Linked DNA regions of Homo sapiens: region 1 is linked to region 2. Evidence: promoter capture Hi-C in 16 types of primary human blood cells and fetal thymus (Javierre and others, 2016). All regions are on one chromosome and are shown on one strand. Each heading gives the region's core, a stretch centred on a gene start or on the middle of the fragment in contact. The rest is flanking DNA. Distances are from core to core; before and after follow the strand shown.

Region 1 (6,412 bases), core at 1,684-4,183, 460 kb before region 2:
ATTATTTTAAACTTTATGAGCTGTTTTGTAAACAGTTCTAATGCTTTTCACTCTGCAGCCTGTAATTATACTGCAAGAGAGAGAAAGAGACAAGAAGAAATCGGTTTTTAAACAAAACTCTAGTGTCTGCAGCCAGGCAGTCCTGACTACATTATCTGCAACAAACAAGACAGCTCCAATTGATAACGCAGCCCTGTAGAAGTCACTAATGTAAGATTTGGTGCTTTCTTCTTAATAACGCAGGGTGATTCCACAGTGATTGCTGTACATGCTGAACACTGAAAGCCTGCAATTATTCTGCACTGACTGTTTGGTTTCTGTGCATTTGTTTTAAATCGTGAGAAACCTGATACAGGCATGAAGGGACAGGAAAACTAAAGTAATAAAATGATAAACAATGGCTTGTTCTCACAAAGCATGGGTCAGGCTAAATAGTTAAATACAGAAATTTCTTAGAGGTTGGTTCCTTAAGTAGCAAAAACTTTGCTCACCTCTCAAGGCCTGCAGAGGTGTGTGAAGGGAGAGTTTGTGAAGAGGGCCTTTGTGCATCCACTATACTGTAAATGAACCCCTGCTGATGGTAGCAACCAGGTAGGAACAGTTACAGGCTCACTGCGTTAGACAAACAGTGGCATTTGAGTTTAAATAATCAGCAATACAAGAAGCTGAAAGTTCTTGACAATTCAGATGCTGATAACCTTTGCTGGAACCCAATCAACATTGCTAGTTATTCTTTTCTTTATCTTATTTACTTTACTTCTTCCTTTAGGAAAAAGCAAATTAGCTTTAATGATACCTTTGTATAAACTACATCAAAAATCATTTCCTAATATGGAAAAGAGAGAGTGGTTTTTTCCTATGAAATGAACTTCCTTTCTGGTGAATGAAAGGTGCAGAAAAGATCTACATTTTTTTCTGCCACAGTGTATCTTATTTTTTTAATTAAAATTTTTATTTTTATTGACAAATGATAATTGTATATATTTACAGGGTTCAATTTGATGTTTTGATATATGTGTACATTGTGGAATGATTATATCAAGCTAATTAACATGTCTATCTCCTCACATGCTTATCATTTTTTTTGTAGTGATAACATTTAAGAATCTATTCTGTTAGCATTTTTGAAACATACAATTAATTCATTGTTATTAACTGTGGTCACCTTGCTGGGCAACAGATCTTTAATGTTTATTCCTCCTGTCTCACTAGAACTTTGGAACTTTTGGTCAGCTTCTTCCCACCACCACCAACATTCAATTCAGGGAATTCATACCTACAACGATATACATTAAGTGGTCAAGAAAATTGAATTTTTTGACTAGTCTGGCCAGCACGAGTCCTCTCTCTATCTCACCTTCCTTCACTAAAACACACAAAACATGCCACTCTAGAAACACTGCACACAGACAATTCTTTATTCAAAAATGACCTTTTAAAGCCTGTCATCCTCTTAACTGCCTGGTTTCCAGCTCTAGAAGGAAAAGAAGTAAAGAAGGGAAAAAAGTCCTGACAGACAAAATGCGGAGCTTGACAGAAGAGACAAGGATGCAATGTTTGAATTGGATACTTTGTGGGGGACAACAAGAGTCCTTAGAGACTAACAATTTATCTTGAGAAAGAGTAGAAAATGAAAGAAATGCAGAAAGGTTTTTCTTATACATACAGAGTGAGTTTGAAGAACAGTGTTCTATTCTTCACCAGTCAAGACCAGGATATAAGTTGCTTTTACTCCAAGCCATAAAATGAAAACAGCAGTTGTAGTTATGGTCAATTGGTGTGGAAAGTTTACAAGACTTTGTTTAGGGTGGCTTAGGGCCGTCAAGCCAAACTATAAAAGTGGCATTAAATGTTTCAAGTCACATGTAAAAGAAAAAAAAAAAAGACTGGCAGGATGTCCAGCCAACTGGATAGGAAGTTTAGGTCACATATGTTTGTTCCACAATACCCCAATCTAAACTGAAGCCCTGTTGCTCCCAAAGGTTTAAGGGGACCTCTGTCTTCCCCAATCCCCACTTTGGCTGGGCAGCTTGGTGCTAGGTCTCTAGAGGGGATGGTGGCCAATATATCAAAAGCACCTTGCTTTTGTCCACAGCAGCAATGTCCAAAGTATAGTTTGGGACGTTTGGAGGACCCTGTGACCCTTTTGAGAGGTTCATGAGGTCAGAACTATTTTGATAAGAATACTGACACATTATTTGCTTTCTTCACTGCGCTGACATTTCTACAGATGGCATAAAAGCAATAGTAGGTAGAACCGCTTTCCGCTTTTGTCTTAGCATGAATGATAGAAGCTTCACATATAGTAAAAACAAACAAACAAACAAAAACAACAACAAAAAAAACCCAGCTTCACTTAAGATGAAGCAGTAAAACCACTAATTTTATTAAACCTTGACCTTGAGTACACATCTTTTCTTTTCACTGTTGTGTTTTCTGAGATAAGAGGTTCACACAAAGTCCCTTGGTGGCTGGGGGAGTATGATGGCTGTCTTGAGGAAAAGCATGAAGGTGGCTGAGCTGCAAGCTAAAGTGGCTTTAAACAAACAAACAAACAAAAAATGAAACACTACTTTTACTTAAAAGAATTTTTTAGACTTGGATATTTGGCAGACATTTTCTCAAATAATGAATGAAATGAGCCTATCATTTCAAGGGAAACAATTGACAGTGTTTGTTACCAATGATAGAAATCTACCTTTCAAGTTAAAATTAGAATTCTGGAAAACTTGTATACTACACTTGGCAGACTCCCAATAAGTAAAACTTTTTCTGATGACAATGGTAGTGATGTTAACAAATGTTATTTTTTGATATTGTAAAATGAAATGAGTCAACATTTAGAATATTCGCATAGTTCAGTGAACCAAATTTCCCAAATAATCACAGTGCTACAAAATCTTACATGAATAAAAAATGCATTTGAAGTACAAGATGACCAATGGATTCTATTGTAACAGAATGAAAAGTTCATTGATATGGCTTCAGATTTCTTAATACAACTAACCTTTAATGAATTATCACTTGCCAAGTTTTGTTGTAGTATCAGAAAATATCTATAAGTATCTGAAAAAGCTATTAAAATGCTTCTACTTTCCAACTACTTATTCATGTGATTCTGGATTTTATTACTGTACTTCAGCCAGAACAGTGTATTTCAACAGACTGAATGTAGAAGCAGAAATAAGAATTCGACTTCCTTCTTTTCAGATAAACATTAAAGAGATTTGCAAAAATGTAAAATGAATTCATAATTTATTCACAATTTTTTTGTTTGGAAAGTATAGTTTTTTTTAATAAAATATATCATTTAGGTTAACATATAATAGATTTATTATTTTCAAAAGAATCAAATATTTGAAAATTTTCTCAGTTTTCACTTGTAAGTATTAATAATTATAATCCACATAAAAACTGTTGGGGCAAGGGTCTTCAATAAATTTTAATTATATAAAGGGATACTGAGACAACCAAAGGGTTTGAGAATTGCTGGCTTAGAGTGTACCTTGTTCTATAGTTAAGCCCAGACTCTCACATTTAAGGCTGTAGGTCTGGCCCTAGTCACAAGCTTCTCATTTACTTTTTTTCCTTAAAGCCTTGAAACTGTCCTCAGTTCTAAATGCCTGGTCTCAGATAAAAGTTGTTGATGAGTGATAAAATTCTGTGTTTTTTATTACCCAAGGATAACACAAAATTTTACAAATGAATGCCCATGCATCTGAAGTATGCAAGGGACAGGGTCAGAACAACCCACTCGCCACAGAAATAAACCTCTCTTGGATGGGGCAGAAGAATTATTTCTAGTACAAAGCAATGGCACTTTATAGTTAGGCCAGAGAAAAAAGGGACACCATAAGCAGTTGAAACAGCAGGGGCAGGGGAGATTATGCAGTTATGCGAAGCTGAATTTAGCCAGAACACGCTTAGATTATTGTCAGAGGCAAGCGAAGTAGAATTACACCAGCAAGAAGCTGGTACCCACATCTCATCCTCCCATCCTACATTGCTGTCTACATACATTTCTTAGGATCAGTTAACATGGCCCTTTCCCCTTAATTTTGGCTTTTGAGTCTCCCAGAGATTACTTCTTTTCTTTAGAGTAAGGCTTCAGGATGTGCTATCTTCTTTATAAGATACATGAATCCACGAAAAAGCTAATTTCTTCTTTTAACAACCCCACAGCTGGCAAGTTCACCTACTGTTAATCTCCAGAAAGCCTGTTTCCTGGTCTAATTTACTACAACTCCAAGCAAAGAAGATAGACAATCATCCCCTCCTGGTGTAGTAACACTTTTATTCTCCTCCAATAATAAATCCTCTTCCAACAAACAATGACAGCTGAAAAGTGTATGCCTATGACCTGGAACACCTGTGGGGAAATATTTGGCTAAATGATGAGATCTTCCTTTCTCCTCTCCTCCTGCCACACAACACTGTGAATCTTGAAATTGGAAGGAATCTTCAAAGCTCATCTATTCACACAGTGGTGAGTGCTGGTTATCCCTGGTGTATGGTGAGGGAGAGGGACAGATTTTATTTTTTGGCTTAATTCATATATATATTGAATTTTTTCAATAATCTGTTGCATTACAAAACATAGAAATAAATAAACTTAAGTTTTCTAGGTTTTCTCTCTGTCTTCTCAGGGAGGAAGAAAATAGATGGAGTTGAAGAGTGGGAAGGATGAAGTGAGGGTTGAAGAGTGAGAAGGATGAAGTGAGAAATGTGCCTTTGAGACTCTGCCTCATAAAAGCAGGTACTAAAACCATATAAAAACAAGCTTCCGAAGGGCATTTTAGAGAATGCATAAAGTCCAAATTAAAATTTGTCCAGCTTCTTTCAGATGAAATTAACAAGACAAAGGAAAACAAAGTGATCTAGATATTATGAAAACCACCAGAAGAACTCAGTATTCCTGAAGCATATGTTACAAAGTGTCTAAAGGGACTAATAATGGTCATTGGTGACCAATTGTGGTCCAAATGATCAATGGTTTCAATGGTGGCAGTGAGATCCAAGAGAATGAGAACGAAGAGACAACTGGATTTCCAAAAGAAGAGGCATTGGAAACTTCAGGTAAAGTGGATTTGCATGAAATACTATGCAGCGATAAAAAGGAACAAGATCATGTCCTTTGCAGGGACATGGATGAACTTGGAAGCCATTATCCTCAGCAAACTAACGTAGGAACAGAAAACCAAACAGCACATGTTCTCACTTATAAGTGGGAGGTGAATGATGAGAACACATGGACCCATGTGGGGGAACAGCACACGCTGGGGCCTGTTGGGGGTTCTTTAGGGTTGGGGGAGGGACAGCATCAGGAAGAATAGCTAATGGATGCTGGGCTTAATACCTAGATAATGGGATGACATGTGCAGCAAGCCACCATGACACACGTTTACCTGTGTAACAAACCTACACATCCTGCACATGTACCCCTGGACTTAAAATAAAAGTTGATGAAAAAACATAAAGTGGGTTTGGGGGAAGGGCAGCGATATTGTTAAAAAGAACTAAAATGTGGTCTTGGGCATCTTAGCTAGGTCTTAAAATATAAGGTTTATTACATTAAATTTCATTAAATTTGCCTTTGGTTTTATATATCTATGGCTTATTTGTACTGAAGTACCTTGAGATATTGCATTAGTCAGCAGAAGTAGTTTGTTGCAATAACAAAGAAATTCCAAATATGATAAAAGCATATTTGTCACTCATACTGCAAGTCACACATAGAATGGCAGAGAACTCTGCTCTGCCCAGCCATGCATGGATGCACACTGATGGGGGCAGTGTTGTCCTGTTGCTGCAATAACTAGACCAGGAAGCAAGGGAAGAATAAACTCAAGAATTGTGCAGGAGCTTTTCAGGGCTTCAACCTGGAAGTGACCCAGTTCACTTCTAACATTTCATTGGATGAGACTAGTCTTGTGGCCCCACTCAACGGCAAGGACACTGGAAAATTTAGTGGACCAAAGTGTTTGCTGAGCACTAATGTCTATGCCACAAACATTACATTTCACTAGTACCCCATTTCTTTCTCTTTCTCTACATGCACATACCACACACACACATACACGTGCATATGCCCACACACATACTTAAGATATGTGTATAAATATATATACCCACACACAGACACATATCTCAAGTAACGAAGAAACATAATCTTTCTCACAGTATAAAGTTCAATCATTCTTAGACACTAAAAATATACTTTCGACAGATTCGGGGATTTTTTATACATGTTTCGTTTTAGTCTGTTTTCCTGATGTACATAATCTGGCGCAATGCAAAAATTTTTAAAGTTCCACAATTCTTGAGATACATTTTAAGTTGAAGTAAATATTTTTAAAAAGACAATTAGATGGTATATTTATGTTTTGAAGGCATTTCTGGAAACACTATCTTG
Region 2 (7,151 bases), core at 4,248-6,747:
CATTGATCATGACATAGCAAGTCTGTCAATCATTGCTTATTGAATAAGTTTCAATATTTGTTGAAAAAATAAATGAATAAAAAGAACTGCAATGTACTGAGAATCTCTCCATGTGCTTACAAAAAGTAGCAACCTAAGTCATCATTAATTAAACACTGAGTGGTCTGGTTAAATATCCAAGTCTAAGTGAATTAGAGAGATTAAAACAAAACAAAATTTATAAACCTGGTAAATACAATTTTCAAGTGAGCACATAGGCATATTTTTGTTATTCTCACATAAAGACATTTGCTTTGTAATCTTTTCTATTTCAAAGGTTTTCTATTTGGGGAGTATGTAGTTATTGGTCAATACTTTTGGTTGCAAGTAACAGAAACCATCTCAAACAAGGTTAAGTTAAAAGGAGAAATATATTGTCTCACAAAAGGATGGTGGAAGAGCTACACTTGGGCCTTAAACCAAATCAGAGTTCTCTCTCTCTTTCTGCGTTTTCTATTCGGTTTCCTACTCTATATTTTTTTCCCCTTTTTGTACCCACCAGAAGGAGATCATGACCATATGGCAATTTTGCCCTTATACTCTAATATTTCTGTCCCCAGAGATGAAAGATGTTCTTTCTCACAAGCTCTAGATATAAAATTCTAGGAAGCATTTGTGCATATAACAAAGGTTCAATTTCCAGAATCTATGAAGGACTTAAATTAACATGCAAAAAACAAACAACTCATTGAAAAATGGGCAAAGAATATGAACAGACACTTCTCAAAAGGAGACATACATGCATCCAAGAAGCATATGAAAAAATGCAATTGGGCAAGGTGGCTCACGCCTGTAATCCCAGAACTTTGGGAGGCCAAGGCAGGTGGATCATGAGGTCAAGAGATTGAGACAATCCTGGCCAACATGGTGAAAACCCATCTTTACTAAAAATACAAAAATTAGCTGGACATGGTGGTGCGTGCCTGTAGTCCTAGCTACTCGGGAGGCTAAGGCAGGAGAATCACTTGAACCCGGGAGGCAGAGGTTGCAGTGAGCCAAGTTTGTGCCACTGCACTCCAGCCTGGTGACAGAGTGAGACTCTGTTTCAAAAAAAAAAAAAAAAAAAAAAAAGCTCAACTTCACTAATAATTACAGAAATGCAAAAACCACAATGAGATACCATCTTACACCAGTCAGAATGGCTAATATTAAAAAGTCAAAAAATAGCAGATGCTAGTGAGGTTGCAGAGAAAAGGAAATGCTCTTATGCTGCTCCTTGGAATGTAAATTAGTTCAGCCACTATGAAAAGCAGTTTGGAGATTTCTCAAGGAACTTAAAACGGAACTACCATTCGACCTAGCAATTCCATTACTGGGTATATACCCAAAGGAATATAAATCGTTCTACCATAAAAATGCATGCACATGTATGTTAATTGTAGCACTATTCACAATAGCAAAGACATGGAATCAACCTAGATGCCAATCAATGGTGGACTGCATAAAGAAAATGTGGTACATATACACCATGGAATATTATGCAGCTATAAAAAAGAATGAAATCATGTCCTTTGAAACAACATGAATGGAGCTGGAGGCCATTATCCTACGTGAATTAACCCAGGAACAGAAAGCCAAATACCACGTGTTCTCACTTGTAAATGGGAGCTAAACATTGAGTACACATGGACACAAAGAAAGGAACAATAGACACCAGGGCCTACTTAAGGGTGGAGGGTGGGAGGAGAGTAAGGAGTGAGAAATTACCTATTCAGTACTATGCTCATTACCTGGGCTACAAAATAATCTATACATCAAACCAGTGTGACACACAATTTACCCATGCAACAAACCTGCACATGTACCCCCTAAACTTAAAATTAAATTTGGAAAAAAAATTCTAACCTAGTTGAAAAAAATTTGTTCAGTTCACAACCAAGATGGCTAGTCAGTTCAACATACCAGTAGAGGACAACCATGGTGGTACAGACGGTTTCAAATGGAGATTGGTAAAGAAAGAGCTCATGGAACAGAGGCACATGGAAAAGTAAAAAGCCAAGTCACAAGAGATAGAAAGCAGGGATTCTTTGCAGTCAAGGGTTTCTGTTCATAGGGCATGGTGATGTTTCCAGGATGCTAACTACCATAATCTCAGATACTAAGGCTATATAATAGGAAATATGGGCTGCTCAAAATATTGCTCACTAAAGGGTATCAGATAATTGATTTCTACACCATGTACTCTGAACTTAACCTGGTTTGTGACATAATGAAATCTTGTGATACAGAGAGAGGAAAAAAGTAAGTTATTAGCAAAAATGTTCTCAAGGCTTTGCCAAACTGATTGCTGTCACAGACAATAAGCAATAGGACCAAACTATGAAACTAGATGTACATAAATATAAATATAGTATGTATTTAAGTATTTTGAACTAAATTATATTGAATTTCAACTTTTCCAAAGTTTATGTTCTTTAAGAATAACCCAGTTTTTTTTTTAGACTCCAAGCCAGAATAGTATGCTATTTTGCAGAGCTGGCAGAATAGAGTGTACTAAGACTTTTCTGCTTATTTTTAGTCATCTACTGGAATAGTTTCTTCACATTTAAAAAGTCAGCTTTACTGTAGCTCTCATACTGTGAAATCTTTTACTAAATCTTCCTACTTAACAGATTTCCTTAGTATTCCATTAGTAAGAATGATAAAATCAGAGCATAATTACATTCATTTTGGATTCTTTGCACACAAGTGTTGACTGGTGTATGGATAGTATTTAAAGCTAACAATTTTCTATGAAAAAAAGGTTGTTTTAAGAGAAATAAGAAATCCTATGTAGCTCTTGTATGACCTTTAAGAATCCACTTGAACATACAATCTAAGTTATCAAGACCCAGGCATTGGAATGGTTGATCCCTTGTAATACCTCATTCACTTTTTCCTGTTTGCAATATTAAAAAAGTAAGCATGAGTAAGAAATAAACTAAGTCTATTATCTCTAATATCTATGTTAATAGGATCTTAAGGAGATAATGCCATAACTTATATAAAGTTCTCTAATATTGGAAACACAAGTTCACTTCTAATTGGCATCTTGTGTAAAAAAGACATTGACCTTCAGGTGAGTAGCTTTCCTTGCAACTCTGGCATCTTCTGTGGACTTACTTCTGTGGATTTATTTCTGTGGACAAGAGCTGTTCATTCATTACTTCATTCAGCAAATATTCCCCACACAATTAGTAATTCCATAGAGTACATTATTCAAACCCCAAGGGCAACCCACTCCATAGCCTGTAATTTTCTTCTAAGACCTCAAGGCCATTGATTTGGTCATGATATTGATCTATTAACAATGAGTTTTTCATTTGCAAGTGTGAAAAATGACCATATGGCACTGCTGGGCCATGTTTGACCAATGTGTATAACTGGGATGGTAATAATTTAGTTCACTTTAATGTTATAAAAAGAAAACAGAATATGTTAAAAGACTTGTAAAGTCATGAAGCGAGTAGCTCACAATACCTGACCTGAAGATAGGCTTTCCATATCCAAGATTACTCTTCCTGAAAACAGGCTGAGTCACATTAAACAGAGAAAAGAGTAAACCTTTGGGTCCAGTACCACGTCACATTGTTTCTTTCTAGTTCATAAAATCCAAAGGACTCAGCTAAACCAGGAGAACAATTAAACTCATCATTTCTTCATTAACTCATATTCCAAGGTGAAATGGCTAGTCTAAATACAGCACTGTTTAAAGGAAATATTTTTGTGAATTCCAAAGAAGCTCTTGAAGACTACTGTCTTTGGGTCATTTGCTATTTCTGTTTATTTGAATTTAAACATCTACAGACACTCTTGGCAAAATAGGCTATTTTCTTTTGAATTCTTAACTATGTCACTGATTAATTATCAAGATAGAATTACTTCTGAGGTTAAAACAGACCCTTGAGATTTGGTGGTTCACTGCATTCACTTCCTCTAAAATTCTAGTAGTTCATGCTTGTGAAATTTCCTTAACTTGACCTAAGTTACTTGATATGGAAAATAAACTACACTAATCGAATTATTTAAGCATCTCACTATTTCCCTATTTGGGCAACCTGGAAATCATGTCAGTTAGCTTATTTAGGACTCTAGTATTGTGAGTGGCAGAAGACCTAAGGAATTTAAACAGAACAAAACAAAGTGGAAAAGCCATATCAAATTAAAAATAAAACAAATAAAAATACTGGTCATTCTAAAACATCCCTCCACCAAACACATTTGAAATTCAGGCTTATATTTTATTTTTTCCACATGGATGAGAAATATGAAATTGGAATTTGTTACTTTTTCTTAGTGTGCTTATTCTAATGCAAGCCTCGTCGTACTAATGAGTAGCAGAATTTCAGGACTCGTGTCTTCTAGTTCACTTGTAGTGGCAGTCGTTTCTTACTACAAATCCTTTTTGAGGGAGGATAATATTAACAAGTCATTTAATAAAGCACTTGTAATCCCCATGCATAATACAAGTTTGACAATTGTGAGACACTAGAGCAGCCGTCGACCTACTGATATTAAATAACTCCTTTAAATATGAAAAAGATATTATGTATTTTTTTCTTACATCACAAATGAAATCTAATCTAACTCCAAATATTTTAATGTGCCTTATAAAGATCTTTTCCTCAACAAATCTTATCTGCACTCTTCCTGAAATAAATTGAAATCATTTTCAAATATTTACTGTGTATCAAATAAATCCCTTGCCATTCCATCTATACCTAAAAGGGTGCGGTTTGATCATTTTATTTTTTTCTGAACATTCTATAAAACATATTATGTATCTGAACCACCATAAAATACTGTTCTTGCAACATTGCCAATTTCAAAATGCTCTGTTGAATAGTTTATCATCGGTGTTCTCCATTTCCTTTCTTGATCCTCTTTGAGAATCAGCCAAGCAAATGCTAGCTAAATTTATTTGCACTTATTAATGTGTCTTAGTCTGAACATTTCTTACTGAAAGGAAATCATGGGGCCAGAAAGAATAAAACCCAATTTTTGGCTGAGGCTCTAATAGCATGGGGGTGATATTAGATGAAAAATAGAGACGGAGGGAATGTAAACGTTAGTTTATTCAGTTCAACTGATTTTCTTCCTATTAAGGTGCATTCTGTTAGATAGTTTTCCTCCTACTTACTAAATAGTTAAGCCCTGACATCATAAAGAAAACTGCAATTCACATCACTAAGGCTAATGTCACCCAAAGATAACTTGCTATTTTAAATAACATGGAAACTGCATTGGGATGACAGATAAGTATAACAATCCATTTTATTTTTAACTGCTTTTGATGTGTTCCAGACTTTGAATATTCAGACAGAAGAATAATGGAAAAGTTATTTTTTCCCCTTAATCACACCTCCACACCCCAAACTACTATTCCTCCACACCCCAAACTACTATTCCTCCACCCTCACCTCTGAACTTTTTGAACAAAATTGATGGATCAAACTCTCCTTTTCTTGCCAGGAGAATAGTCCTGGACTGAGCTTCAGAAGATCTCAGATCACTGACGTTCTGTCTAGAAGAATACTCCAAGATATATTTCTAAGTAATATTCCTTCTCTTGTTGGGGGAAATTAGAGAAGATTTCTACCTGGTGCCATATCAACTCAAGGATGGAGTCAAATACTGAGAGGCTCTGTCATCTGTCTTTGGATCTCCTTCTGTGAGTATTTATGCTGAGGCTCCACAGTAGGACCACATTTCTGTAACAGACCAGCAGTGGGAAACCAGGACTAGACCCACAACTCATACTTTCCAGCTTGTTGTAACATCCTTTGAAATGTTCAGCATTGATCCCAAAAAAATCTTAGCCAGGATTTCCAAATAACATCATTGTTCAATACAAAATGTATGTATATTATTCTTCCAATGAATCTTTCTACAGGGCAAAAAGAAGCAATGGTCCACAATAGCCATTACTGCCTGTTCAAAGAACTTACATTAGCTATTTTAGGGTAGGCGTATTAGAAATACATTACCTTGGTTTTTCTTCTTAGAATATTTTGATTTTTCCTCATTCCTGAAGGATATTTTCTCCTGATGTAGAAGTCTTAGCTGACAATGTTTCTCTTTTTGTACTTGAAAGATATTGTACCCCTTCCTTTTGGCCTCCATGGTTTTAGATGAGAAATCTGTTGTCTTTTGTTCTGTAATAGGTAACATGTTGTTTCTCTCTGGGTGCTTTCAAGGTTTTTCTTTGTTTTTACATTTTGAAAATTTAATTGTGACGTATCTTGGCATATTTGTCTAAATTTGTCCTATTTGAAGTTAGCTAAATTTCCTGAAGTGTAAATCCTGAAGTGCCTACCAGCATTAACCAGTTTTCTACCTAAATGAATTATCATTCAAGAATTTACAAAAAAATAACAACCTTGTCATTCCCACTATTATAGATATTATAACCCTACTCAACCTATACTTTTATATATGCCTAATCTATTCTACTTCAGTCACATTATTCCCCATATCCAATAATGTAAAAATAAAGTGACAGTTTGAAAACACAAAGCCCATACTACTTCTCCCCCGGCTTACCATCCTCGCCATCTTCCTCCTACCAATCTCCCTACTTACCCTGCTTATCTTCTAGAAATTTAGGTTAAACAAGACCAAGAGCCTTCAAAGCCCTTAGTAAGTAGACTATACTTAATTTCTGAAAACCCAAGGACTGCAAAACTCTACTCTGCAAATTTGAGAACTTTTCAGTCATCATTTCATGGAATACTTTTTCAATAATGTTCTTTTTTTAAATCTCCTTCTGGGCCTTTGATAATATGCATGCTAGATCTTTTGGTATTGTTCACAGGTTCTTGATATTCTGTTAATTTTTTCTCAGTCTATTTTCTCTGTATAGTTAAGAGTGGAAAAATTCTATAGATCTGTTTTCAAATTCATTGATTCGATCTGTCATCTCCATTCTGTGATTAAACCCAATCATCAGGTTGTATTATTGTTATATTTTTTAGTTCTATAATTTCCATTTGGTTCTTTTTGTATAACTGTTGTTTGTCCACTCAGACTTTTTGTTTCTTAAATTTGTGTCAGGGGAATTTGTCATTGCCACATGAAATATTTTTGTAATTACTGCTTTAAAATCCTTATCACTTATTTCCAACATCTGATTC

Evidence for each region. Contacts are between HindIII fragments. The CHiCAGO score rates a contact against its expected background, and 5 or more counts as called.
Region 1: a contact is called between a fragment that was not itself captured here and the fragment with the promoter of LINC01592 in region 2, in 1 of 17 cell types (endothelial precursors). The highest score is 6.1, in endothelial precursors.

The regions. Positions count from the first base shown.
Region 1 is chr8:69,555,812-69,562,223 of GRCh38, reverse strand. All of the region lies in intron 3 of SULF1 (sulfatase 1), which reads right to left. Among named protein-coding and RNA genes, the nearest start is that of SULF1, 66 kb to the right of the region's middle. The HindIII fragment of the contact is 1,274 bases long and covers 2,297-3,570 here.
Region 2 is chr8:69,102,536-69,109,686 of GRCh38, reverse strand. It overlaps LINC01592 (long intergenic non-protein coding RNA 1592), which reads left to right and starts at 5,497. Exons shown (of 5, transcript NR_039986.1): 1 at 5,497-5,689. The HindIII fragment of the contact is 15,425 bases long and covers 1-7,151 here.